Linked DNA regions of Homo sapiens: regions 2, 3, 4 and 5 are each linked to region 1. Evidence: promoter capture Hi-C in 16 types of primary human blood cells and fetal thymus (Javierre and others, 2016). All regions are on one chromosome and are shown on one strand. Each heading gives the region's core, a stretch centred on a gene start or on the middle of the fragment in contact. The rest is flanking DNA. Distances are from core to core; before and after follow the strand shown.

The links. The method cuts DNA at HindIII sites, captures the fragments that hold promoters and counts their contacts. A CHiCAGO score of 5 or more calls a contact.
Region 2: a fragment that was not itself captured here is called in contact with the fragment with the promoter of EML6 in region 1 in 1 of 17 cell types (M2 macrophages); the score reaches 6.2 in M2 macrophages.
Region 3: a contact is called between a fragment that was not itself captured here and the fragment with the promoter of EML6 in region 1, in 1 of 17 cell types (naive B cells). The highest score is 5.3, in naive B cells.
Region 4: a contact is called between a fragment that was not itself captured here and the fragment with the promoter of EML6 in region 1, in 1 of 17 cell types (fetal thymus). The highest score is 5.2, in fetal thymus.
Region 5: a fragment that was not itself captured here is called in contact with the fragment with the promoter of EML6 in region 1 in 1 of 17 cell types (fetal thymus); the score reaches 5.3 in fetal thymus.

What each region holds. Positions count from the first base shown.
Region 1 is chr2:54,721,445-54,726,444 of GRCh38, reverse strand. It overlaps EML6 (EMAP like 6), which reads right to left and starts at 2,783. Exons shown (of 42, transcript NM_001039753.4): 1 at 2,668-2,783; 2 at 1,187-1,896. The coding sequence starts at 1,383. RefSeq lists silencers at 1,580-1,729, 2,401-2,890 and an enhancer at 3,031-3,250. The HindIII fragment of the contact is 5,681 bases long and covers 1-3,320 here.
Region 2 is chr2:55,180,864-55,185,863 of GRCh38, reverse strand. CLHC1 (clathrin heavy chain linker domain containing 1) reads left to right here. Exons shown (of 13, transcript NM_152385.4): 10 at 4,120-4,294. Among named protein-coding and RNA genes, the nearest start is that of CLHC1, 49 kb to the left of the region's middle. The HindIII fragment of the contact is 209 bases long and covers 2,168-2,376 here.
Region 3 is chr2:55,163,079-55,168,078 of GRCh38, reverse strand. No RefSeq gene overlaps it. Among named protein-coding and RNA genes, the nearest start is that of CLHC1, 67 kb to the left of the region's middle. The HindIII fragment of the contact is 3,144 bases long and covers 1,515-4,658 here.
Region 4 is chr2:54,328,727-54,333,726 of GRCh38, reverse strand. CIMIP6 (ciliary microtubule inner protein 6) reads right to left here and starts at 2,843. Exons shown (of 5, transcript NM_001100396.2): 1 at 2,726-2,843. The coding sequence starts at 2,751. The HindIII fragment of the contact is 1,716 bases long and covers 1,611-3,326 here.
Region 5 is chr2:55,043,936-55,048,935 of GRCh38, reverse strand. All of the region lies in intron 1 of RTN4 (reticulon 4), which reads left to right. Among named protein-coding and RNA genes, the nearest start is that of RTN4, 4.0 kb to the left of the region's middle. The HindIII fragment of the contact is 1,815 bases long and covers 448-2,262 here.

The DNA of each region.
Region 1 (5,000 bases), core at 1,534-4,033:
GCTCTGGAATATAAGCACATCATTAGGAAGGGAAAAAAAAGCTGATCTTTGAAATCATTCTCTGCACTGAGAAATTAGGAGCATGGACATGACATCACTTCATTTATTTCATTGTGAAAGACAAACTTAGAGCAAAAGTGGCAATATTCTGAGAATGTAATGGTAGTTGTTCTACATCAATGAAACACACAAGTTTGGAAGGTATAAATATGGTCTCTGTCAGTTGTAGTCCATCCTCAGCAAGTCATTTTCCCTGTGGGCTGAGGCTCCCATATGACGAAAATCTTCCTTAACTGCTGAAGGCTGAAAAGGATTCCCTGTGAACAGCATCTGGCCCATACCTTGTTTGCTCACATAAAAGCTGACAAGGGCTGGAGGAAAATGTGTCTGGTCCAAAGATGAGAGGATAGGGCCAAGAATCACAATATAACCCCTTTCCATTTAATCGGGAGGGCCCCTAAAACGGCCATTCATCCAAATGAGCTCTCCTGTCAGTCAGTCTTGGGCCATCCGCTAGCAGATGTTGGTCATTGTGTGGGCTGGCTGGTAGGATTTTGTGATCCAGCAGCTGCCAGCCTTTAATAACCTCAATGATGCTGTGGAAGCATCCATTTAGTGTATAAATATGCTTTGGGCATTAAAACACTGCCAAGTGAAATATTAGAGAACAAACTCCCCACCCACTGCAGAAATTTCCCAGGTCCAAAGCATCTGAGATGAAGATTCCAAATTACCAGTAGTAAAATTTCTTTTAGATCTTTTTTAATCCTCTTGCTTACTGAGAAACCCACTGAGGAGCCTCCCAAAGATGATGCCCACACTTCAGGTTATTGGTCCTACCGTGCACCTGGTTAGGGAAGGAAGAAGTGTTTCATAGTTACCCAGGCTCCTTCCACTTGTAGCAGGAAAGAACAGCAAGAAAGCATCAGAACACTCAACTCCTTGGAGATTTAAAAGCCAGAATTCCGGAGGGATACAGCGAAAAGACATCTCTCCCTCCTCACCTACACTCCCCACACTGTTTCTGCCCTGGCCCTAGAATCAGCAGCCCTTCAGTAATTCCATGCGGCTCCAGAGAGAATCCTCTATTCCACGGGGCTCCCGGATCCGACCCCAGGTCAACCGCTTCCCACCTTCCCAGCCTCCACACGCAACCCCTCCCCGCCGCCCCTGGCCACCCCCTTACCTGATAATGTCGTCGTTGTGTCCCAGGAAGAATTTTTGGCTGTGCTCGCGGGTGTTGTAAACCACCCCGACCCCAGCCACAAAGTAGACCACCTCCTTGCCTGCCGTGTAGTACAGGTTGTTGCGGCACTGGTGACCCCGGTACCCGTACACCCACTCCAGCCGGAGCTGGCAGCGGGGCGCCGTCCGATCCGCCATGATAAGCCGACCCCGCGCGCCCCCCGCCCCCCCGCGCGCCGGGGCCGTCCTCGCCGAGGCTGGGGCTGCGGCGGACCTGCAGGGGCTCAGCGCGCGGCGCAGGGCGCTGATTTCCGCGGCGACACACAGGCACAGCCCAGCGGGCCGGCCGCCACCATCATCCGCTGCAGCCGCCGCAGACAAGCCGCCGCCGCCGGTGTGCGGCCGCCAGACCCCGCCGGGCGCCGGGCTCCCTCTACCCGGGCAAGGCGGCTCTGGGGGCGCCGGCACCGGCGCGCGCGCCTCACTGCACCTGCGGGCTCCGGCCCCCGGGAGAGGCTCTCGGGGGGGCCACCCCGCCTTTTACATCAGGAATCTGCATATCCCAACAGCGATCACCCAGTTCGCTCACTGAAGTTTGCGGTGCGCCGGGGCTTCGCGGCAGGCGGCGGGATTTATTCTGCGATAGCCTTGATTTGACAGGCAACCCGGGTGAGCTCTGCCATCGCCGTCTTTGGATCCGAAATTGACAGTCTATATCCAGGAAGCGAGAGCGAGGAAGAAAGAAACAGATTTTTCGCATAAGTCACCCAATCCAAGAAAATTATCCCCAAACTAAACCAAGTTGGGTATTTTTAAAAATTGTCCCCTACTCCCGCTTTCTCTCTCCAGTTCCATCTCCTTAATGATATGAAATATGCGTAAATGCTGCTGCCTGGCAGTTGCTGATGCGATTTGAAGGAACGCTTGCTGTTTCCCTAATAAGCGAGGGCGAATATGCAATGGTCATTTTTTAGATGCTCCAATTAGTTTTCATGTGTGTGTTTAATAATCATATCCTCCGTGAACCTTCTCTTCACCGAGAAAGCCATAAAGAACTTAGCAGCTCTCATTGATCAGCAACTCCAATCCGCATCATGAAAGATTGTCTTACTCGGAAGAAACGAGGCACTAGTGCAGTCGGAGGGAGTGCGCTACCTACAAACGCTCCTGGTCGAGGAGAAATCAAATAACAAGTGGCAAAAATCGTGTACTTCTCCCCAGAAACCTCTGCGCTAAACACCGGGTCCCACGGAATCCCGGGTCCTGCCCTGAGCCCAGCGTGGAGAGGGGTCGCCCGAGGGACCCGGGGGACAGCAACCCCCCACAGACGCACACGTCCCGGGGGTCGGCGCGCTGCGCGAGGGATGCCCGCCCTCAGGACTGTTCGGCCCGCGCGCACTGCCGCCCTGGCGGCGCCCTGCACTCCTCCCACTCTCGAACCAGCCTCGCCCGCGGAGCATCCGCGCGCTCTCTGCCTCTAACCTCTGCTGCCAGCGGACGCCACCGGCGCGTCCCGGATCCCGCGCGGGCGAGCGAGCGAAATCCTCTGCCTGCCCTCCCCTCCCCGCCTCCCGCACCCGGGGATGGACTTCGTCACTGGGGCGCCGCGGGAGACAGGTTCTTCCTCCAGCCGGGGCTCCGGGGGCGGGGCCACAACGCCGCGCTAGTGAACCTCAGCTGCCGGTTACTAGGCGAGATCTCGCCGCTTGGAAACAGCGACGCCCCGGAGGACTGGGGCCGCCCCCTCCCTCTGCCTGTCCCTGTGGCCTCTTCCCCCGACGCATCCTGGGAAGTGTAGTCCTCTCTGCGCCGGTTAGGGCGGACAGCGCGCGGAAGGGACCACAAGTCCCAGGATTCCGCGCGCCCAGAGGGAGTCGCAGCGAGACCTGTACCGGCGTCAGCGGAGCCTGCGGCTCTCGGGGTGAGGAGATCCCGGCTCACCAAGGACGATTGCCTGCCCACGCGGGCGTTCCCTTGTGACTGAGGCGGGAGCTGGCGTGCGTGGGTCTCTGTAGAGAAAAGCGGTGGAGTTGGAATGGAGACGGTCTCCCAGCCCACCACTGGAATTTCTCCTTCATCGGTCTCTGAGTGTTGCTGTAACCGACATCCTCACCATGCTGTAACTGACTCAAGCTTAAGTTTGTTTCCTACTTAAGTTTTCCTTTTCATTCACATGGATTTTAATTTGTTAAAGTGCAGTTCTGCCAAGTTTAAGAAAAATGCTGGGAATGTGAGCTCACTTCTGCCCTAAGAACCAGCGTCTTCCCATGACCTGCGTCCTAAATTAGAGGACTTGGGTATTTACAGATAACCGGAGGTTGGAAGCAGGAAGGTGCTCACGCCATGAACAGCTAACCTTGGCCTTCAAACGCAGAAGCTGGTGGCATTTCTCCTAAAACTGCCCGAGATGAACTATGAATCCACTGTGTTCTCAAGTAGCCTATTTCCAATTTAGGGCCATAGCTAGTCTTTGGAAAGAGATTTCAAAATCCCAGTGACTAAGAGGCTGCAAAAGGATGATGGATTGGACGTTTGGAACGTCCTTTCCCTCCCATGCTTTCAGTGTAATCGCTTACTCAGTTCATCTCCCTCAAGTTTTAAGACAACCCTCCGACCTGGTAGGAAAGCTCGAAAGAACTGGAAGTGCCAGAGTTTGGATGATTTGTTGCTGCCCGCAGTAATGAGGATTTGAATTGGTCTCATCTTTGTTTTTAAGGAAACAGAATCAACAAATAAGTGAGATGGCACTGTGCTAGGCAACAAGAACACTGCCAAAAACAAAAACACGGCCTGAGAAAGGTTTGAGATAGAAGCAAAAATATAGTTGATCAATGATGTCGTGCCATAAAACAGTGCCAAATGAATTATATAAAGACAGTAAGTTTTTGTTGTTCTTTTTGTTTTGTTTTGTTTTGAGACAAAACAGGCCGTTGCCCAGGCTAGAATATCGTGATCTTGGCTCACTGCAACCTCCGCCTCCTGGGTTCAAACGATTATCCTGCCTCAGCCTCCTGTGTAGCTGGGATTACAGATACGCACCACCACGCCCAGCTAATTTTTGTATTTTTAGTAGAGACAGGGTTTCGCCCTGTTGGCCAGGCTGGTCTCCAACTCCCGACCTCAGGTGTTCTGCCCGCCTCGGCTTCCCAAATTGCTGGGATTACAGGCATGAGCCACTGTGCCTGGCCAGTAAGTTCTATATAAGAATTCAGAAGAGGAAGAGTTTTTCCAGATAAAATACATCAGGAAAAGTTTCATGGAGGAACTAGGAAATATAGATAGAATTGAGATAAGTAAAGATAAATTGAAAGAGCGTTCTACATGCGTTTAGGGAATAAACAAAAGTGTAGATGCAGAAAAGTGGATTTAGAGAACACTAAAGAGAATACCCAGTTTGGTGCAAGGGAGAATTCATATAAGATCAAGAGGACACATGAAAGGTTAGATTGTAGATGGAGCTCAGCATAGGGGTTTGCGCTGTATCCTTAAAATAATGGAGTCATTGATTTTTTGAATAAAAATAAGGGAATAGCAATGAAAGCAGTAATCAAAGCATGAGGTATTAGAAGTCTGGGGTAGTGCTTGAGGCTGCGTTAGAGATAGTGGCAGTGGTCTAGAAAGGAAGAGACACTTTCCAGAGAAAATGTACAAATGTATTGAAAAGAAGTCTCTTAAATAGAAATGGATGGAACATATTCATTTCCTAAATTATCTTTAGTATAACTAATGACCCCCATGCTGTACCAGACTGTTAAATGAGTTGGAGGAGTAAGTCTGAGTCAGCCACTTACAATTGTAACCTTAGGCAAATCACT
Region 2 (5,000 bases), core at 1,023-3,522, 460 kb before region 1:
AATAAAATAATGTTCACAGCAGTATTTTCCTATAACATTTTCAGAAAATTTTAATAAATAGACTGTTTTTAACTGTAGATTAAACTGTTATGACCTAGGTACTAAGATACAAAGATTAGTAAGACCCAATCCTTTCAATGAGATAAAGGACTAATTGGGAAGAGAGATAAAGAGGCAGACAAGTGTGGAGCCAGCTCATTCATTTGTTTATTCATTTACTCTTCATTCAACAAAATTGATTATCTAATATGTGCTGGGCATTGTTCTAGGTGCTGGGGATACAGCAGAAAATGAAACCTGCAAAAATGATTTGCATCACGGAGCTTACATGTAGAGTGATTCTAGTGATATGAAGAAAGTTCTCTGGAAATTCAAAAAAGGCATATTAATAGTTTGGTATTTCTACCCTCAACTGTGCCTGTTGTCTTCATGTAGACACCTTTTGTTTTATCTTTTTCAGAGAATAAGCCTCAGCTTTTTCTAGGTCCTGGAAGGGGGTATCATCTGACTGGGTGAGGAATAGCTTTTTAAATAGCCTTTCAGCCATGATTTCTAGTTTTAGCCCATCTCATTACAGAGGTTCCCGGTGCTGGCAATTCCTGAGACTTTCTGTGTTGTTTGGTGTGAATTGGATAGCTTCTTCTTGGTTTTCCTTATTGGTAGTTTAGGAATCAAACTTTTAAGGCTCTGCGTCTGCTATGCTAGTTTCTACTCTCTATTTTCTGGCTTTCAGAATTTTGTTATTTCCTTTTAAATTTATTCTTATGAAATCCCTTTACCATTATTTTAATGATTTTAATGAACTAAAATTGAATGTGTGTGTTCAGTCTACCGTCTTTACCTGAAAGTCTAATTGAATTGTCGTGAATCTTGTTAATCTATAGTAGGTATAGGAAATCTTTGTGTGTGTGTGTGTGTGTGTGTGTGTGTGTGTGTGTGTGTGTTTTGTTTTTTTTTTTGAGATGGAGTCTCAGTCTGTCACCCAGGCTGGAGTGCAGTGGCACGATCTCAGCTCACTGCAACCTCCGCTTCCTGGGTTCAAGCGATTCTCCTGCCTCAGCCTCCTGAGTAGGTGAGATTAAAGGCAGGTGCCACCACACCTGGCTAATTTTTGTATTTTTAGTAGAGACAGGGTTTCACCCTGTTGGTTAGACTGGTCTCGAACTCCTGACCCTGTGATCCACCTGCATTAGCCTCCCAAAGTGCTGGGATTACAGGTGTGAGCCACCGCGCCTGGCCTAAGAAATCTTTCATCTTCTGCCATCATATGTGTGTGTAAATGTATATATATTTAACTTATCACAAAACATGAAGAAGATAGAATGTTATAAAATGTTGGATAGGAGGCACAATATCTTTGTTTCAATGTTATCTTTACTATACACTTGCATTGTGTTCTTTGAGCAAGCTACTTTATCTACTTGAAACTCAGTTTTATTACTTGAAAAACAGGAATGTTGGCCAGGTGTGGTGGCTCATGCCTGTAATAGCAACACTTTGGGAGGCTGAGGCAGGCAGATTGCTTGGCCCAGAAGTTCAAGACCAGCCTGGGCAACTGGTGAAACTCTGTCACTGCAAAAAATACAAAAAATTAGCCGGCCGTGGTGGCACATTACTATAGTCCCAGCTACCCAGGAGGCTGAAGTGGGAGGATCACCTGAGCCTGGGAAGTTAAGATTACAGTGAGCCGTGATCGTGCCACTGCACTCCAGCCTGGGCAACACAGTGAGACCCTGTCTCGAAAAAAAAAAAAAAAATAAAGAAAGAAAGAAAAGAGAGAAAACAGGCCGAGCATGGTAGCTCACGCCTGTAATCCCAGCACTTTGGGTGGCCAAGGCAGGCGGATCACGAGGTCAAGAGATCGAGACCATCCTGGCCAACATGGTGACACCCTGTCTCTACTAAAAATACAAAAATTAGCCGGGCGTGGTAGCACGCACCTGTAGTCCCATCTAAATGGGAGGCTGAGGCAAGAGAATTGCTTGAACCTGGGAGGCAGAGGTTGCAGTGAGCCGAGATCGCACCATTGCACTCCAGCCTGGCGACGGAGCGAGACTCCATCTCAAAAAAAGAAATAAAGAAAAGAAAACTAGGAATGTTAATGATACCCACCTTGTTAGGGTTATTGGTTAAGACCAGCTGATAATTTCAAAGCACTATACAAGCTTTAGGGGTTTTTAGCACCATGCCACTTATTCAGAATTAATTTTCTTTACAATACAGTATATCTGAGAGTTGAGAAGTAAGTTTAAAAAGTCTGTGAACAATAAAAAATAGGTATTATATATTATCTTGTGAAAATCCATACATTTCATTAGTAGACCCTCAATCGGACGCAGAATCTATTTTTTATTTCATACCTGGTTTTACCAAGCTTTGATCTATGAAACTGGATCATAGATCAGTTAGACTTGATAGAGTCTAAAGTTCAAGCTAGACTTGACAGAGTACAAAGCAAGAAACAACTTTATTCTTCCTCGCCATTGCCCTTTAAAAGGGCTGTGTTGGCGTTCCTATTTCTTTTACTGGATAATATCTTGGTCATGTCACATAGCTTTTTTTCACTCGCTTTTAGATATTAATAGTTTTATTTTTAGGTACCCAAAAGTCTAGTCTAAACTAAATAGAAACTGCAATCTCTTGTTTAATCTAAAATTTTTCCCCTTACCCTGGTTAGGCTCTGATTTGGCTCTAGAACCTATTGAGGCTCAGGAGACATGTTTGCTTCTTCTTTACTCTGCTACTCTCTCCTCTTCTAATCACTAGGCAGCTTTACAGTGGGGTTATATAAGGGACAGGAAAGGTCTTACTCAACTGGTGCAGTGGTCATTAGGCTTTGATGTTTCTTGGGTGTGGTAGATGCCCAATGTTGCCTCCTAGTTTACTGCTTTAGTCTTTGTTTTTTAGGGCCTTCCCTCACTGGGGACTTTCCATTGTGCCTTTTATTGATTCAGGAGGTATTACTTTAGCTGGCTGCTAATGATTCTGGTGGTGTGTACCCCCAAAGACTCTCTCAGGTGGGGTTATCTGGTCTGCATGCAGACCTCTCTGAGAGAGCCTTTTCAAGACAACCAGCCTACCCGCCTTTCATGGAATCTCCTTCACCCTTAAGGAACATGCAATCTTGTGAAAGTAGAATTTGCTCGTACTTTAATTCTCTTTACTCACTCTAGCCTTTCACCTTTAAACTTTCCAGGCAAATATCAGGCTCTGGTCTTTTTGTTCTCTAAATTCCAAGACATCCATATCCAGTAGTTCTCTCTAAACTGTCTCACTTGACTTTGAGGAGGAGAATTAAAGAAAAATCTAGGAAATAAGATATGGTGGTAAATTTATTTTCTGCTCACAAAAAGGAAAATAATCTGATGGATTAATTAAGAGTTCAAATTGACAGTCTTCCTCCCCTGCAAGTTCAAGCATTGAGTGTACATACAGCTTAATAAAAAATGAATTGTAGTCATGCTGATTTGGGATTGACATACTTTTTTGGTCACTGGCTGAATCTACATGTAAATTTCAGGATCCTAATTTGTCATCCTCATTGAATTATTTTCAAAGTTAGGGTATGTTAGACTAAGTATATTCCTTTAAATGTCCAGTTTTATATTTGCCTCATTTGATTGGTCATTAAAGCAGGATAGTTTGCATTAGGAATTTTATCCTCTGTGTATCTGCAGCTGCACCTTTTGTTCTCTTCGGTCATAGCAAATTGGCCTCATTAACAGCAGAACCCTATTACTTAAAAGAAAAATATATTCGCTCACAGTTCTGGAGGCCAGAGCTCTGAAATCATGGTGTCAAGGGTTCATTCCTTCTGGAGGCTCTAAGGGAGATTCCATTCCATGCCTCTCTCCTAGCTTCTGGTGGTTGTCAGCGATTTTTAGCCTCCCTTGGCTTGTAGCAGATCATTCCAATCTCTGCCTCCATCTTCACATGGCACGTGATATTTAGTCATTTAGATAAAGTTTAATCTATAAGCATGAGTTAAAAATTATAAATGTGTAATTTTAGATTGTTAAAGTTTTAGAAAAGCAAAGGCACAAAAATAGTAATATGAGATAAGAAAAAGCAAACTATTTCTTAAAGTATTTGACTCAGAAAATTTTCTCCTTTCTGTAGCTGTTGGAAAAATTAGAGGAAAGCCTCTTCCATTACTCTTATTTTTTGAGGCCCTCTTTATCACAAGTCATGCTTTTCCATGTCCTGTTGATGCAGCTCTAACCCTGGAAGGAATCAAATGTGGATTATCAGAAAAACGGTTAGATTTAGTTACCAATTGGGTTACACAGGAAAGGTAAGCAAAGTTAAGCTTTTAACTTAATTTTGACATTTCGTTAATAAAGTTGTTTGTTCTAAAAATATTAATAGCTTTATCAATATGTTACTTGAACATTTACTTCAGGTCCCTATTGCAATTAATCAGAAAGTGTTTAGTGGTCGGGTGTGGTGGCTCATGCCTCTAATCCCAACACTTTGGGAGGTAGAGGTGGGAGGATCGCTTGAGGTCAGGAATTCAAGACCATCTTGGCCAACATGGTGAAACCCTGTCTCTACTGAAAATACAAAAATTAGCCAGACGTGGTGGCCAGGTGCAGCAGCTCACACCTGTAATCCCAGCATTTTGGGAGTCCGAGGTGGGCAGATGACTTGAGGTCAGGAGTTCAAGACCAGCCTAGCCAACATGGTGAAACCCCATCTCTACTAAAAATACAAAAATTAGCCAGGCATGGTGGCGCACGGCTGTAGTCCCTGCTACTCAGGAAGCTGAGGCAGGAGAATCGTGTGAACCAGGGAGGCAGAGGTTTCAGTGAGACGAGATCGCGCCACTGCACTCCAGCCTGGGTGACAGAGCGAGACTCAATCTAAAAATATATATATATATGCATTTAGTTTCCTGTAGAAATCTAATTTTCTTAGCAAATACACCACTACATTCCAAATAACTTTATTTTCATATTGACTATTATCGGGGTGATAGAAATTGACAAGTAATCATTTCA
Region 3 (5,000 bases), core at 1,837-4,336, 440 kb before region 1:
CAAGCCTTGATTCAAAGTGGGGCAATGAGATTAGTGCAGAGGTGAAGGCAAGAGGCGTCTGTGTGTGCCTCCGGAGAGACCCTAGCCTAGGAAGCAATTCTGAGACTTTGTTATTTTCTGACCAGAACTGCCAGCTCACGGATCTCCACATACCACTTAGCTTTTGAAGGGAGCCTATGAGCCAAGGTTAAGTCTTCTTTCACCCCACAGTTGGGGTTTTATTTGTTGTCTTTGTTCCTCAGCTCTGTCTCCATCAAAAACAAGATAATGAGCTTGTTGGTCAAGCAGCTTGTAATTTTCCCAGGTCAGCTGAGTGTCTAGAGGAGGAGAAACAAGGCCTGATGATTCCTGAGTAGGTGAATACATTTAGGAGGACAGAGAATTATTTGTAAGTCAGGGTTTCTCAACCTCAGCACTACTGACAGTTTGGACGGGATAATTCTTTGTTATGTGAGGTTGTCCTGTGGCCTTGTGGATGCAGGACACTAGATGCCAGTAATCACCCTCCCCAACCCCAGCTCCCCTGGCTATCAGAAATTGTGTTAGGCCACGCCCAGTGGTTTGGCGCCACTAGTGTGAGTTTTCCTCATGAGTATAAAAACTCTACCACTCCACAGTTAAATGTCATAGTTACTGGGTGGATCTTCTGTAAACAGGGTCAGAGATAGTAAAGTAAGGGCCTGGACCTCCCTTATTTCTTTCTCCAACATAAATCACTACTTATCATTGCAGATCCAGAAAGCATCTTTTTTTTTTTTTTTTTTTTTTTTGAGATGGAGTCTCACTCTGTCACCAGGCTGGAGTGCAGTGGCGCCATCTGGGCTCACACAACCTCCGACTCCCTGGTTCAAGCGATTCTCCTGCCTCAGCCTCTTGAGTAGCTGGAATTACAGGCACGTGCCACCGCACCCTGCTAATTTTTGTATTTTTAGTAAAGGTGGGGTTTCACCATGTTGGCCAGGATGGTCTCAATCTCCTGACCTCATGATCCACCCGCCTCGGCCTCCCAAAGTGCTGGGATTACAGGAGTGAGCCACTGCACCCGGCCAAGAAAACATCTTGAGCTATGTACATGGAAACAAACAAACAAAACAAAACAGGCCTTATCTCACTTTCAACTCAGAAATCTCAGTATCTCAGGGATTCTTGGTAAGACAGAAGTAACTGATGTGCTCAGATTTCTCTTGTAGGCAGAAGGCTATCACCTTCAAGCATGAGCTGCCTGCCTTCTGAACTCGCAGACCGCCTCTTCCGTTCTCTGGGGGCACATTGGCTTCCGTGTTCCTAGGTTTAACCTTTCTTCTTCCCTTGATCCCTTTGTATCTTCAGTTAGGAGCCCAGGCTGTGGAAATGCTTGCCTGGAAGGGTGGGAACCAAAGTGCCCTCAGTGGCTTTAGAATGTGACTTGTTATTGCATCCACTTGTGCCATTTGTCAAAGAGGATGATAAAGACTTGGCTCTATTAGGTGAGAAATTGGCATAGCTATTAAACTGACTGACATTCAAACCAAGCTTTATTACAGAAAGCTACAGAGATGATAGGATTGAAAACATGACCTTTTGCCAGAAAGCTAGTGGGAAATGGGATCATTAACCTTGAAGAAATATTACAGATGAACCATAAAGGATTACTGAACAGAGAACCTCATACATGTTTTCTACTTCTGCTTAAGACAACAAAAAGAAATTCACACAGGAATTTAATTTAAGTTAAAACTTTAAATTATTGCAGGGAGATGTTTTTGATAGTTAAGGTTTATGAACTTTATAAGGGGTGACAGTTCCGAGGGTGGGTTTGGAGTGCTCTTTAAAGGTCTTTAAGAACTGGCTGTACCTATATCTGACTGATTGGTTGAGGAAGGGCAGGTTCTGTGAGGGAAGGGATCACCTTTTCAGTACCCCTGCTCTGATGCTTGGATGGCCCAATACACATGTTGTGGTTGACTGTAAGGTGGCACCAAACTTAATTCTCTAAATAAGGACTTGGGCAATGTTCTTCACGGTGTGAGTTACCTGACCAGACTCAACAGATGACAATCTTCTCTCTGCCTTCAGCAGGGCTCTGCACATTTACTTCATAAGCAGTGTTGTGGGTAGGGCTCCCTGAAAAGCTGACTCTGAGACAGAGGTTTGTGTGTAGGCTGTTCATTAGGAAGTGCTCTCCGTATCCACACTGTGGAAGGGAAGAGAAGAAAGCAGGGTTGGGCAGAGGGAGAAGCTAAGCTCTGAAGTAGTCCCAGAAAAGAGCTCAGCTGACCACTTGGAATGCACTGAAGCTGGGAGGGCCCTTCTGAGGTATCCCCAGTTGGTGTGTGGAGCCAGGCCTTTAGACTTCTGTGGATGAGTCACTGGATGGGGGCTGCCACTGGAAGTAGGCATGACTTGGGCAGGGTAGTTTCCTTCAGCCCAGGAAGTCCCCAAGAGTGCTGATGGCCATGGATCTTGCTCTAGCAGCTTTTCGACCATGTGGGGGACTAAACTCTTCATTCATGAAACGGGACCTGGGGAGCGTCACAGCGTCCACCACAGCAGCTTCCCCTGGCTTCTACTTGGGTCTGAGTCTTTCCTTCACCCTTTACATAAGAAGCCTTTTCCTCCAGGAACATATTTCCCTTCCCCTCATTCCCACCCAACCCTTTGCCACCCCAGTACAGGGAGTGAGTGCAGAGCCACAGATTCTGTTTGTTTTGAAATTTATTCCTCCCTCCCTCTTTCCTCGTCTTCTTCATTTCTCTCTTTTACCTCTCATCAGGCAGATTCATGGCCTCGTGACAGCCAGACTAGATGGCAAGCTAAATGTCAAGCTGATTTCTTCCTCTTTGGAGAGTTTCCATTCTCCCTTTCGTGGCTGCGAATTCCTTCTCTGTCCTTTGCAAACACCTTGTGGATGAATCCCCATGGCAGTAGTGCAGTCAACAGCATACTGGACTGCAGCCTTCATTAGCTGAGGCACTCGTTTGTAGGAGCTCAGTCAAGGCCTGTTTCCTCCATTAGTTCTCCAAAACAGGGAAAGGCCATGGAACCGAGTAATCTCCATCACTCCTTCTAACTCCAGTGTTCAATAATATTTTGATTTGAAGGATTTTCACAACAGGAAATGGCAACAAAAGAGATGCCGGATTCCCTAGTTAGTCTTTGCTTCTTATCTCACCCACATAGAATACCAAAGTCTCTTTTCCCAACTAAACGCAAGATGTGGGATTAGTTATGGCATAGCCTGAAGTGTTTGGGGGAGTGAAGTTTTAAAACCCCAGAACATTTTGGAAACCAGTCTGTATTGAAATCAGCAAGTTCTTAGCAGCTCATCTTGCAGCTGCGCCTAGCCTGTCTGCGAGGCTTCTGTGTAAGGGTAAGTGAAGGTGAATCAGGACTTGTGTTGGGCTGCATTTGAAATGCATGGAGCAGCACACTGCAGCAAGAGAGGTTTCCTGCTGGCTTCATTCTGCTGGCCTCCCTCCCTTTTTATTAATCTTAATTTAATTGGATTTAGCTATCAGTCTTGGTATTTTCTGTAGCGATTTTTTTTTTTTAAGGCATGAGTCGGAGCCATCGTAAACACGCGCTTAGAAGGAGCTCGGCTCAGATGCCAGGTAGAGACCCCCTTCAAACTGTCCTTTCTGTTCCAGGCTGGGTGTCTCATTCAGTAATGACAGACTGAGAAATTAGCAGCACAGGGTAAAGATAGAGGAGGTAGAAGCAGGAGAGAAAAGGCTAGTGGAAAAGTGAACTTGGCTGTTCAGAGGACAGAGCTGAGTTTATTTGCATAGTAACTCAGGTGTGGTTACTTATTTACGAAACACATTTCTTATGAGGTGTGGAAAATAGGCTACCTGTGAACCTGATCCCTGGCCTAGAATGCTCATGGTCAGGAGGCAGAGCCCGGCAGGGACCCCACTCCCAAGCCCTTCCATTTCACCTCTGTAATTCCCCGTGGAAGCAGCAGAATCCAAAACGTCTTGTTTACTTGTCTTCCCCTCCCCGCGAGACTCTGAGGTCCTGAAGAGCCAGGATAAGTATTTGGTCACTGTTGTTTTCCTTGGCACATGGCAGACCTTCAGTAAATAAATGGGTAATGAATGAGCATCGGAGTAACCTGCTGAGTGACTTGGCAGTGAAGGTTGCAGCAACCTGGAAGTTGGAGGCAGGTAAATACAAAAGAGAAGGAGAAGTTTTGGATCTCCCAGACTTAGACAGGTACCCTGAAGTAAGAGGAGGGAGTTATGTCAGAGCCTAGGGACAGAGAGGCACCATTTGAAGTAGAGGTCAGCTGTAGACACACTGCAGGAGACGATCCCAAACAAACTTGACCTTCTACCAAGTACATGGACCTGACTTATTCAGAACAAGGCAAAAACCAAAACAAAACCTTAAAAAAGGCCTACCCCCAAACAGGAATTCCCCCAGACTCACGGTAATGCTGTAGCTACACAGCAGAAAGAACAAAGAAGTGATCTAAGCATCCTGAAATTGAAACGGCTATTGCTAAACGCAGGAGAATCAGCAGAATCATTAGATTCCAGAAAATGCCGAACCTCTGAGGCCTCTGTTTTCTTCCATCCTGATGTTAGATTGCTGGCAGCCCACGCTGAGCTGCTTTATGAGAATGTGCAGCTAGGCCACTGCCTCTAGAAAGATGAGGGAGGAAGGAAGGGCAAGCTTGACTTGCTTGGAATGTGGAAGCTCTGTGTCGAAGATGAGTGAATGAGCACCGGGCACTGCTGTCTCTCTGCTCCTGCTGACGAATGAGGATATGGCTGGCCCTTTCAGCTAATTAGATGCAGACATGGGTATCTCCGAGTATATATATCAGTCAGGGCCCGCCTTACAGGAAAATAGAATTTATCCATAAAGGTTCAAATAAAAAGACGTTAATAAAGAGATTATTGCCAGAGATTTGGGCAAGGTTAAGAGAACCACTAAGGAATGTTGAGTACCCAGAGGCTGCCTCAGTCAGGAACCATTACCTCCCATGGAGACAGGGCACGAGGAGGAAGGAAATC
Region 4 (5,000 bases), core at 1,219-3,718, 390 kb after region 1:
AGTAGAGACAGGGTTTCGTCATGTTGGCCAGGGTGGTCTTTAACTCCTGACCTCAGGTGATCTGCCAGCCTCGGCCTCCCAAAGTGGTGGGATTACAGGCGTGAACCACTGTGCCTCGCCCACATCATTTTGCAGTTAAAACCCTCAAGTAGTTTTCCATTCATTTACAATAAAATACTGCCTCCTAATTGTAGCTCTGAGGTCCTGTGTGACTTGCCCCAGTGAACCTCTTCGACTTCACTCAAGACCCTCCAACCAGACTGCCTTCTGTCAGTTCCAGGGACACATCAATCTCTTTTCCCTCACGGCACCTGCACATGCTGTTCGCTCTGCCTGGACAGCTCTTCCCCAGCTCCCAGCACAGCTGGCTCAGGATATTTAGGTCTCAGCTTAAAACCATCTCCTCAGCAGCTTTTCCTAGATTTCTTTCCTCTACCACATGTATTCTCTATTTTAGTACTTTGTTCATTTCTTTTATTAACACCACAATTTTTTATGTACCTAGTTTTTTGTTTACTTGTTTTTAGTAAGCACTACAAATATCCTTTACTAGTCAATAAGTTCCATGAAGGTGTACATTGTTGAATTCACCATGTGCCCAACATCAGGAAAAGTGTCCTGTTCATCCAAGGTAAATGGACTGCCATTATAACATTTACATATTTCTGGTGAATCTGCTGGAGTTTACTCCAGCTTTGTTTGAATACCCTCAACCACCCCTCCAGTACACATAAAAACAACATTCAGAATCCTTGGATTCTAGTTCCCTGCTTCCCAAAAATTACTTTCTGCAAAGGATTTGGAAAAACTGATTACTGGTAAAGTGTAAAAAACTTCTAAACCTTTTTCTATTACCTTTCCAGAGATACAATTATTTATTTAAAGGTAGAGTCTTTGGGGTCAATTAATTTATTATTGTAGGCTTCTGGCATCAGTTTTTTCCACCTGTTTCTCATAGTTATCACCCAACAATATACACTTGTAGTGATCAAGTCCTTGAAGAAAAGGACTGGGGCTATTTGTTATATAGTTAAATTCATTTGATTAAGCACTTGTGGTATGAATGCCTACGGGTTGATAAATAAGTGTGAAATATATGACTCGAGCAATCTCTTGCCAGAAGAAAAGCACAGATAAAAACACTGATGGGCTCTGAAGTGAGTCAGACAGGGACTGGAATCCCAGTTCTGCCATATCTGAGCCTTTGTCTCATTTGCATGATAGGAACAATACCTATTGTAAGAGATATGAGAATAACATTGAATAATTCATTGTTTCAACAGATATTTATTGAGTTGCGTGCCAGGTGCTGTTGGAGGCACTGATGATAAAGCAGTGACAAAACAAAAATTCCTGCCCTCATAGAGCTTACACTCTAATGGGGAAAGGCGGATGAAAAAGTAAATTATATAGTCTGTTAAGTGCTAAGGACAATAATAAAATAGAGAATGGGAAAAGGGAGTGTATGTATGTAGGAGGTAGGTTTGCATTTTCAGGTAGGGTGGAGGCTGCATTGTGAAGGTGGCAAATGAAAAAAGAGGGGAAGAGAGAGCTAAGTGCATATTTGTGGGAAAAGCATTCTAGCAGAGTGAACTGTAACTGCCAAAGCTTCCCAGCAGAAGTGTAACCATCCTTAGCGCACTGCTTCTAAAAGTATGGGCACTGGAGTAGCAGCATTGGCATCAATTGTGACCTTGTTAGAAATACAAATTTATGGGGCCCATTTCCTTTATGTACCTAGTTTTTTGTTTACTTGTTTTTAGAAAGCACTGCAAACTCAGAATCTCTGGGGCTGGTTCCCAGGAACGTGTTTTAACCAGCTGTTTCGCTGATTCTTATGCACGTTCAAGTGTGAGAACCATTGTTCCAGGGACAAAAATACAGGCTTTGGAAGAGGGTATCCCTGGCTCCACATCATTCCTAACTAGCTGTATGTACTACCTTGATTAATAGTCTCAATTTAAGGTACATCAGAATCACCTGGATGCCTTGGTTGAAGCCAGATTATTGAGCCCCAGCCATAGAGTTTCTGATTCTGTGTGTCTCGGGGGTGGGAAGTCCCCAAAATTTGCATTCCTAACAACCAGGTGCTGCTGATGCTGGTCTTTATCACTGCAGATGATAGCAGAAAGGCCTGTTTGCTGTAGCAGAGTCCTGTCAGAGGGAGGCAAGAAACGGTAAGGGGCGTGTTGTGTAGACTCCATAGGCCATTGGAGGTGCCTTGGCTTTTACTCTACGATGTCGGATGGAGAACGGCGATCTAACCTGGGCTGTAAACGGATAGCTCTGACTGCTGTGTCGAGGAGGCTGCAGAGGGGTAAGGGAAAAGCAAAGCCACCAACTGGAGGGCTGTTGCAGCATCCCGGCAAGAGAAGCTGGTACTTGGGACTGGGTGGGCACAGTACTGAAAGTGATGAGCAGTGGTAGATTCTGGATAATTTTAAAGGTAAAGACTACAGAATCTGCTAATAATTGTGAGAAGGAGTGGATGACTTCAAGAATTTTAGATCCGGTAATGCAAGTCAAGTCCCTGACACACAGTATGTGCTCAGTAAACGGTGCGTTTTAAAAATTATTGTTGTAAGCGCTCAGCCAACTGGAAATTAGAGAAGCAAGGGGGCTGTCTGAGCTTGGCCTGGACTGTCCATGCTGGATCCCGGCCTCCCCCTGAAGGAGGAAAATAGTTTTTGGAAAGGGAAATAAGACACCAAACCCCAGCACTTACTGATGCTTATCTTCCTTTTCCTCCATGGGCCTCTACGGCACCAGGCAGCGAGGAGCCTCCTGGGAAGAACAGGGACGCAGCCCTGCCAGGAAAAGGGTGCGCAAAGCGCGGCGACTGTGACTCGCGCGTTGCTAAGCGACGGGCGCTAGTCCTCGGAAAGGGGCGTGGGGGGAAACTCCTGGAGTGCGCAGGCGCAGTTAAGCCGGGTTGGTGCTGGACTGTTGCTCACTGTGCGCGACTGCGCGGCGAGGAGGGCGGGGGTGCCTGGCCGCGTCTCTAGGCGTGTGGGCTCGACGCCCTGCGTTTGAACTTGCCCTTCCCATTGTAGGGCCAGGAGGGGTGTTTATCAGGACTGATTTGGTCCTTGAGGATAGGGGAAGGGCTGTTTCCGGAGCTGCGGGGCAGCGCTGCTGCCGTCTCCGCCGTGCCCGCCCTCCGGAGCCCGGCAGGTCGTCGTCAAAGCGCTGCCACGGGTCGCCCAAGCTGGCTGCAAAAGTGCGGGCCGGCGGGAAGGATACTTGTTTTCCCTTGTATTGTTAACAATACTGTGCGAGTCGTGATTGGTTGCTCCTGAGCTGCCTAGCCTTTACTCCAGAAAGCTTGGTTGTCACTGTTTTCCACCATTTCTGACAAAACCTTCCCCGGCTGGGCTGCCAGGATTAAAATAGAGCAAGGGAACACTCATCTCCTGCAAATGAGGCTCCCTGCTGTGTGTCATCTGTTGCAGCCTGAGCGGGGTTCAGAATAGGGTAGCTTAGGCAGCGGGTTGGGGCTTGTATGTGTAGCACTTACCCAAAAAGAGCAAGCTCCTGGGAAAAGCCGTTGCTGACTTGCATCCACCTTCTGGCCCTGGAATTTCTTACTTCATTTCACCATTGCCTCCCAATTTCCACTACCAGAGCCAAAAGTCTTTGGCATCTGTCATAGTAACTCACGCATTTCCCTGGATAACGGAAAAAGAAAAGTCCAGAGTTGAATTCTGCCTTATATCAGGCTATGCATACGTATATGTTTGGAATCCAGAGTCAGTGTTCGTGTGTGTGTTTACATTCACCTTGGAGAGTGATGGGAGAGCAGAGGTTGGTCCTAGGACTCATTTTATGTATGTGACCTGAAATCCTATCAGGAAGAAGAATATATGTGTAGATTTGACACCTAGTGACCTAAATACCTGAGTGTGGACTTCGTTGTTAAAGACTGGAGTGTGTGTGAATGTGTCATTGTGTGTGTGTGTGTTTGGTGAGTAAGGAGTGGATGAGTAAATAAATATGGGGCAAGTGGGTTGAAAACCAGAAAGCAGGGGGAACTAATAGCAATTGAGCTTCCACTAGGGGACCAGGCATTTGTTAGGCATTGTATTAAACACCACCTGCTTATCTGGTCTTATCCTAACCATCACACTGTGATTAGGAGCTTAGGGTCTGGGAGCAGTCAGTGTTTGAAACCTGGCTTTACCACTTAACTAGCTAGTTCACTTGGGCAAATGATCTAACCTCTCTGAGCCTCAATTTTTTTCATCCACAAAATGGGGAAAATACCTAGGGTTGTTGTGAGGTGTAGATGATTTAATACAGGCAGAGTACTGAGAACAGGGCCCGATGCTTAGTAAGTGCTTTGCCATTATTTTTATTGATCAACTTGATCTGCTTATGCTGCCACATGTCCTTGAGGGTTAGTCAACTCCCTCATCATTCCCCCTAATTTCTGCTTCAACCTTCACCAATCTCTTCAAGTCCTAAAACCACTTACCCTCAGGAACAATCTCAGGGCTTAAAGAAATGAGGGCATTTTCTCAACTTGATCCTTTCAGACTGACAAGTTCACCTGCATCCGTACAGGATTAGAGTCATTTGCCTCTCTTTTGAGCGGTATGGTATTAGTTTTAAATATATTTATGTCAATCTCTGTTAAGTAGCTTGCATATGTCTAGGACTTATTAAAAGCTATGAGAAACATTTAAAAAAGAAATTGTGGGCTAGGTGCAGTGGCTCACGCCTATAATCCCAGCACTTTGGGAGGCCAAGGCGGGCAGATCGTGAGGTCAGGAGATCGAGACCATCCTGGCTAACACAGTGAAACCCCGTCTCTACTAAAAATACAAAAATTAGCCGGGCGTGGTGGCACGCACCTGTAGTCCTAGCTACTCGGGAGGCTGAGGCAGGAGAATCACTTGAACCCAGGAGGCAGAGGTTGCAGTGAGCCAAGATTGCACCATTGCACTCCAGCCTGGGTGACAGAGCAAGACTCAGTCTCAAAAAAAAAAAAAAAAAAAAGG
Region 5 (5,000 bases), core at 106-2,605, 320 kb before region 1:
TTGCTGTTAGTGTGGACTTGGCCCAGCCTCTTAGTGCATCATAATTGAATCTTACAGAAAAAAATAAAAGGCAAAATGGTTGACATTCCTAAAGAAGGGAAAACCTGTGGATTCCTTGCCAGGAATTGGCTAATTGAACTCGTGGCAGATTTACCATGAGACACAGAGAAATGTTTTGAGACAGACATTTTCATATATATTGGTTAGAAATACTGTTTTTCAGAAGGATATGTTTTAGGTTACAGAATCAAAATACGGTCACGTGCCTCATAACGACGTTTAGGTCAAGGACAGACCGCATTTGCAACGGTGGCTCCATAAGGTTGTAATGGAGCTGAAAAATTCCTGCCGCCTAGCGACGTCTTGATCTTGACCCTGTGTAGGCCTAGGGTAATGCGTTTGTATCTTAGTTTTTAACAAAAGTTAAAAAAAAAATAGAAAAAAGCTTATAGAATAAGAATATAAAATTTCTTTTCTATAGCTTTAAAATGTGTTTGTGTTTTAAGTTAAACGTTATTACAAAAGAGCCAAAAAGTTTATAAAATAGAAAAGATACAGTAAGCTAAGGTTGATTTATTATTGAAAAAATATATCTAAAGATAAATTTAGTGTAGCCTAACCGTAGAGTGTCTGTAAGTTGTACAGTAGTACATGGTAATGTCCTAGGCCTTCACATTCACTCACTACTCACGTCCACAGCAGCTTCCAGGCTGGCAAGCTCTGTTCATGGCCAGTGCCCTGCACACGTGTGCCATCTTTTAATCCTTTGTACAGTGTTATTTTAGGTATGTTTAGATAAACACTACACAAATACCATTGTGTTACAGTTGCCTACAGTAACATCCTGTATAGGTTAGTAGCCTAGGAGCAATTGATTATACCATATAGCCTACATATAGGTATGTAGTAGGCTCTACCATCTAGGTTTCTGTAAGTATACTGTGAGGTTTGCACAACGACAGAATTGCCTAACAATACATTTCTCAGATCCTGTTCCCCCTGTTCAGCGAGGCATGACTATGTATGGTCTGTAAAATAGTTTTCAAGTTCTTTCATTCACCTAAGTTCCTGATTGTATGTTATTATTAGTCACGTTGTTTTATTGCCGTTTTCATCTTGGGAAATTATTTTGGAAGCGAAAAAAATCACGTTTGTTAGAGATTGAGAATGCATAATATTAGATACATTCATAAGTACTTGCTACTTCGGGGACAGAAAGTGTCCCACTAGCAGTAGGACCTTTATGTATAAAAGGTCAAGAATCAAGTAGTGTAACTGCCTGCTTGGAAATCTTCATAGCCTTGTAGGATGTTAGAGGTGATTCATTTCTTAAAAGAAAATCAGTCTGATTTTTTTTTTTCTCAATTCACTTCTCCATAATGGGGGAAAATAAGCCAATTGCGATGCTTTTTAGTAATATTTTGATGTTGACGGACTCCTCACCCCCATACTACTCAAAACACTAATTGCCATATTAAAGGTCTTAGAAGATGAGGAGTAACTCAATCTTTTCCTTTTTCTTTATGAAAAAGACATACTTGAGGGAAACTGAGGTAAGAGAAAAATATGAAATATATTTTTAAACAGGAATTTTTTTTTTTTTTTTTTGAGATAGTCTCCCCCTTGTCACCAGGCTGGAGTGCAATGACGCAATCTTGGCTCACTGCAACCTCCGCCTCCCAGGTTCAAGTGATTCTCCTGCCTCAGCCTCCCGAGTAGCTGGGATTACAGGCGCCTGCCACCACGCCTGGCTAATTTTTGTATTTTTAGTAGAGACGGGATTTTACCATGTTGGCCAGGCTGGTGGTCTTGAACTCCTGACCTCCAGTGATCCACCCACCTTGGCCTCCCAAAGTGTTGGGATTACAGGCATGAGCCACTGCGCCTGGCCACAGGAAGTTTAATGATTGACAAAAGCATACTAATCTTGTATTGGTATGGGAACAAAGAAAATAGTTCTGTCTTTGAACATTAGGGATTCAGGGGGTGACAGCACTCTCTTGGAATCTTGTGTGTTGGAATGCTGAGGTTGGAAGGCAATGGGGAAAGAATATTGCCTGTTCTACAGAGTTCCCTAATTCCATATTGATGATACCTATTGGGAAACTTTAGTTTTTTTAGTAAGTGTAAGAACATTGTGATTATGGTTGTGGATAGTTAACCATTTTCAATGTGTCTGGATTTCTTAATGCATTCAAGAGTTTGTTCATTAATTCAACCCATTATTGATTACCTACCAAGAGACAGGATCTATTCTAAGCTTTGAGGGTATAGCAATAAGCAAGACACATGCTCCCCCTTGGGAGAGTACAGATAATAAGCACATAAATAAAGAACCCAGAATAGTGGTGTTATGAGGAAAATAAACAGGATAATGGCATAGAGAATGATGGGGATTTATGGGGGCTTTTTTAGGTTAGGTGACACTAAGACAGGCTTAGAAGGTGAGATTTGAGCTGCAGAGAGAAAACATTTCCAAGCAACTTCAGGGCAAAACCCTGAGGCAGGAATGAGCTCTTTGTGTCTGAGAATCTAGTGTAAGACTAGTGAGAAAAACTAGTGGGAGAGTGAAGAGGTGGCCTTACCCACCCAGATCATTGGGGGTCTCTAACAGGCAATGGTAAAAATGTTTAGCTTTTTAAAAAAATAAAAATATGCTTATTAAATAATTATATTGTGATTTTGGAACTAAAATAAGTTTGGAAGATTCAGGGCTACTGAGAGGACTGATGTGAGACAAAGGTGAGAAATGTGCAGAGCAGGGTTAGAAGCATAGACTAGCCTGCCTGGAAGAGAGGGTTTCTAGATCACTGACACTTGTCTGTTTAACATTGCTGTTTACGTTATTTATGAGTAAGCCCTGATTTTCATCTGTTAATAAGTTGTAATTTTACTGTTTGCTGTTGTGCCCAGAGCATCTCCATCGCAATGCAGTAACTGAAGTGAGACTAAAACCTCTCACTTGAGGGCCATTTTTCATGGGAAAATACTTGGCTTAGTGGTTGGTTAAGTTAGGCTTTGAGGATATGCGCAGAAAACTCTGGCTAGAAATCGATTTGAGAGCAGTGCAAACATAATTAAGGGTGACTTCGAACTGGTCTCTGGACATGTTCTAAACCAAGGTTAATTAAGACCGAAAATATGTAGATCTGGATTCTGAAAGATACTGAATGCCAAATTAAGGAATTTGGATTTTATCATTCCACTTTAATCCATGCTCTGCTATCCAGTTGCCCTTGCTTTTGGTAATTTATATTATGAAACCAAAATTGTTTTTTTTAATTGTTGTTTCTAAAGTTATTGTTTTTCACCCCTTCTCGAATTAGAGCTTTTGGCTTTGGGAAGACAGCCATTGAAGGTTATTTGAACTGAGGCAAGGCACCGTGAAAGCAGTATTAGAAAATTGGTGACAATATTCAAGATAGGTGGGAAGGAAAAGCAGATGAATTATTTAGAAAGCTATTACAGTAGTTCTGAGAAAGATGAGTAGGGCCTGAACTATTTCATTATTTGTTCATTCAGTGAAAATGGAATAGAAGGGAGGAATATAAGAGTATAAGAAGCACGCTTTCTTTAATTGGCTGTGAATCTGTTTTTATAGTTAGTTTACGAAGAGGCTGTATGAAAGACGAATTGATAGGACTTGGAAACCATGAATGTAAAGACAAAGAAAAGAATATTAGTGCTTATTAAATCAGTTTCAGAGACTGCCAAAATTTAATTGCCATGAAAATTTGTATAAAATTGAATATTGCTCATAAATACAGATTATGGGTTGGGGCTTAAAAATTACTAGTTTTTACTATCATGAAGCCATTTATTATATGATCATTTTTATTGGCGTAGTAGCATGTATTAGAAATTTTAAGATTTTGAGTGACATATGGTTTAAATATTAGGTATCAGTTCTTAATATAAAGTCCAAGTTCCCAGGAAGTGGATGCTTCTAAACACAAGAAAGTCATGCCCTGTCCATTCCCCACTTTCATTTTTGTGATTCTGAATAATTTCTGGTTAAGCCATTTCTTATTTTTAAAAGTTGGGAATAAGTAGTATACTCCTCATGGATATGGTGAATTATGTTTCAGATTGGTTCCTGGGCAACTGAGTGTCAAATTTGTGGTCTTTTTTTTTTTTTTTTTTTTTTTTTAGTGATTTGCAAACTCTCTCAAATCCTTTTTAAAATGAAGTGATGGGTATATGTGGAACCACTGATAAATAACTGCATGGAATAGTGTTTAGAAAACATGCTATTTTAGTGCTATATTATTGTAAACTTAAAGGATTTGCCATGTTATAAAAACATTTCTGAAAAGGAGCATGTTACCTATTGTCCATTAATTGGCTTTGTTTTATGTGTAGTTATTTTCTTTTTAAAAATCTAAAAACCAAAAAACAATGGTCTCACTTTTGTCCAGGCTGGTCTCAAACTTGGGGCCTGAAGCAATCCTCCTGCCTGGACCTCCCAAAGTGCTGGGATTACAGGCATGAGCCACCATGCCTGGCAAGTTTTTTTGTTTGTTTGTTTGTTTGTTTGTTTCTTTTGAGACAGAGTCTTACTCTGTCGCTCAGGCTGGAGTGCAGTGGCATGATTATGGCTCACTATACCCTTGACCTCCTGGGCTTAAGCAGTCCTCCCACTTCAGCCCCCCAGGTAGCTGAGACTACAGGTGCACACCACCATGCTGGCTATTTTTAAAATTTTTTAAAAAAACTTTTATATTTATGTATTTATATTTTGGAGACAGGGTCTTGCTCTTTCACCCAGGCTAAAGTATAGTGGTGCAGTCTTGGCTCACTGCAGCCTCATCTTCTGGGCTCAAGTGATCCTGCCACCTCAGCCTCCCAACTAGCTGGGACCACAGGCACGTACCACCACGCCCGGCTAATTTTTGTGTTTTTCGTGCAGATAGGGTTTCGCCATGTTGCCCAGGCTGGGCTCAAATTCCTGAGGTCAAGCAGTCTTCTCGAAGTGCTGGGTTTACAGGCGTGAGCCACCA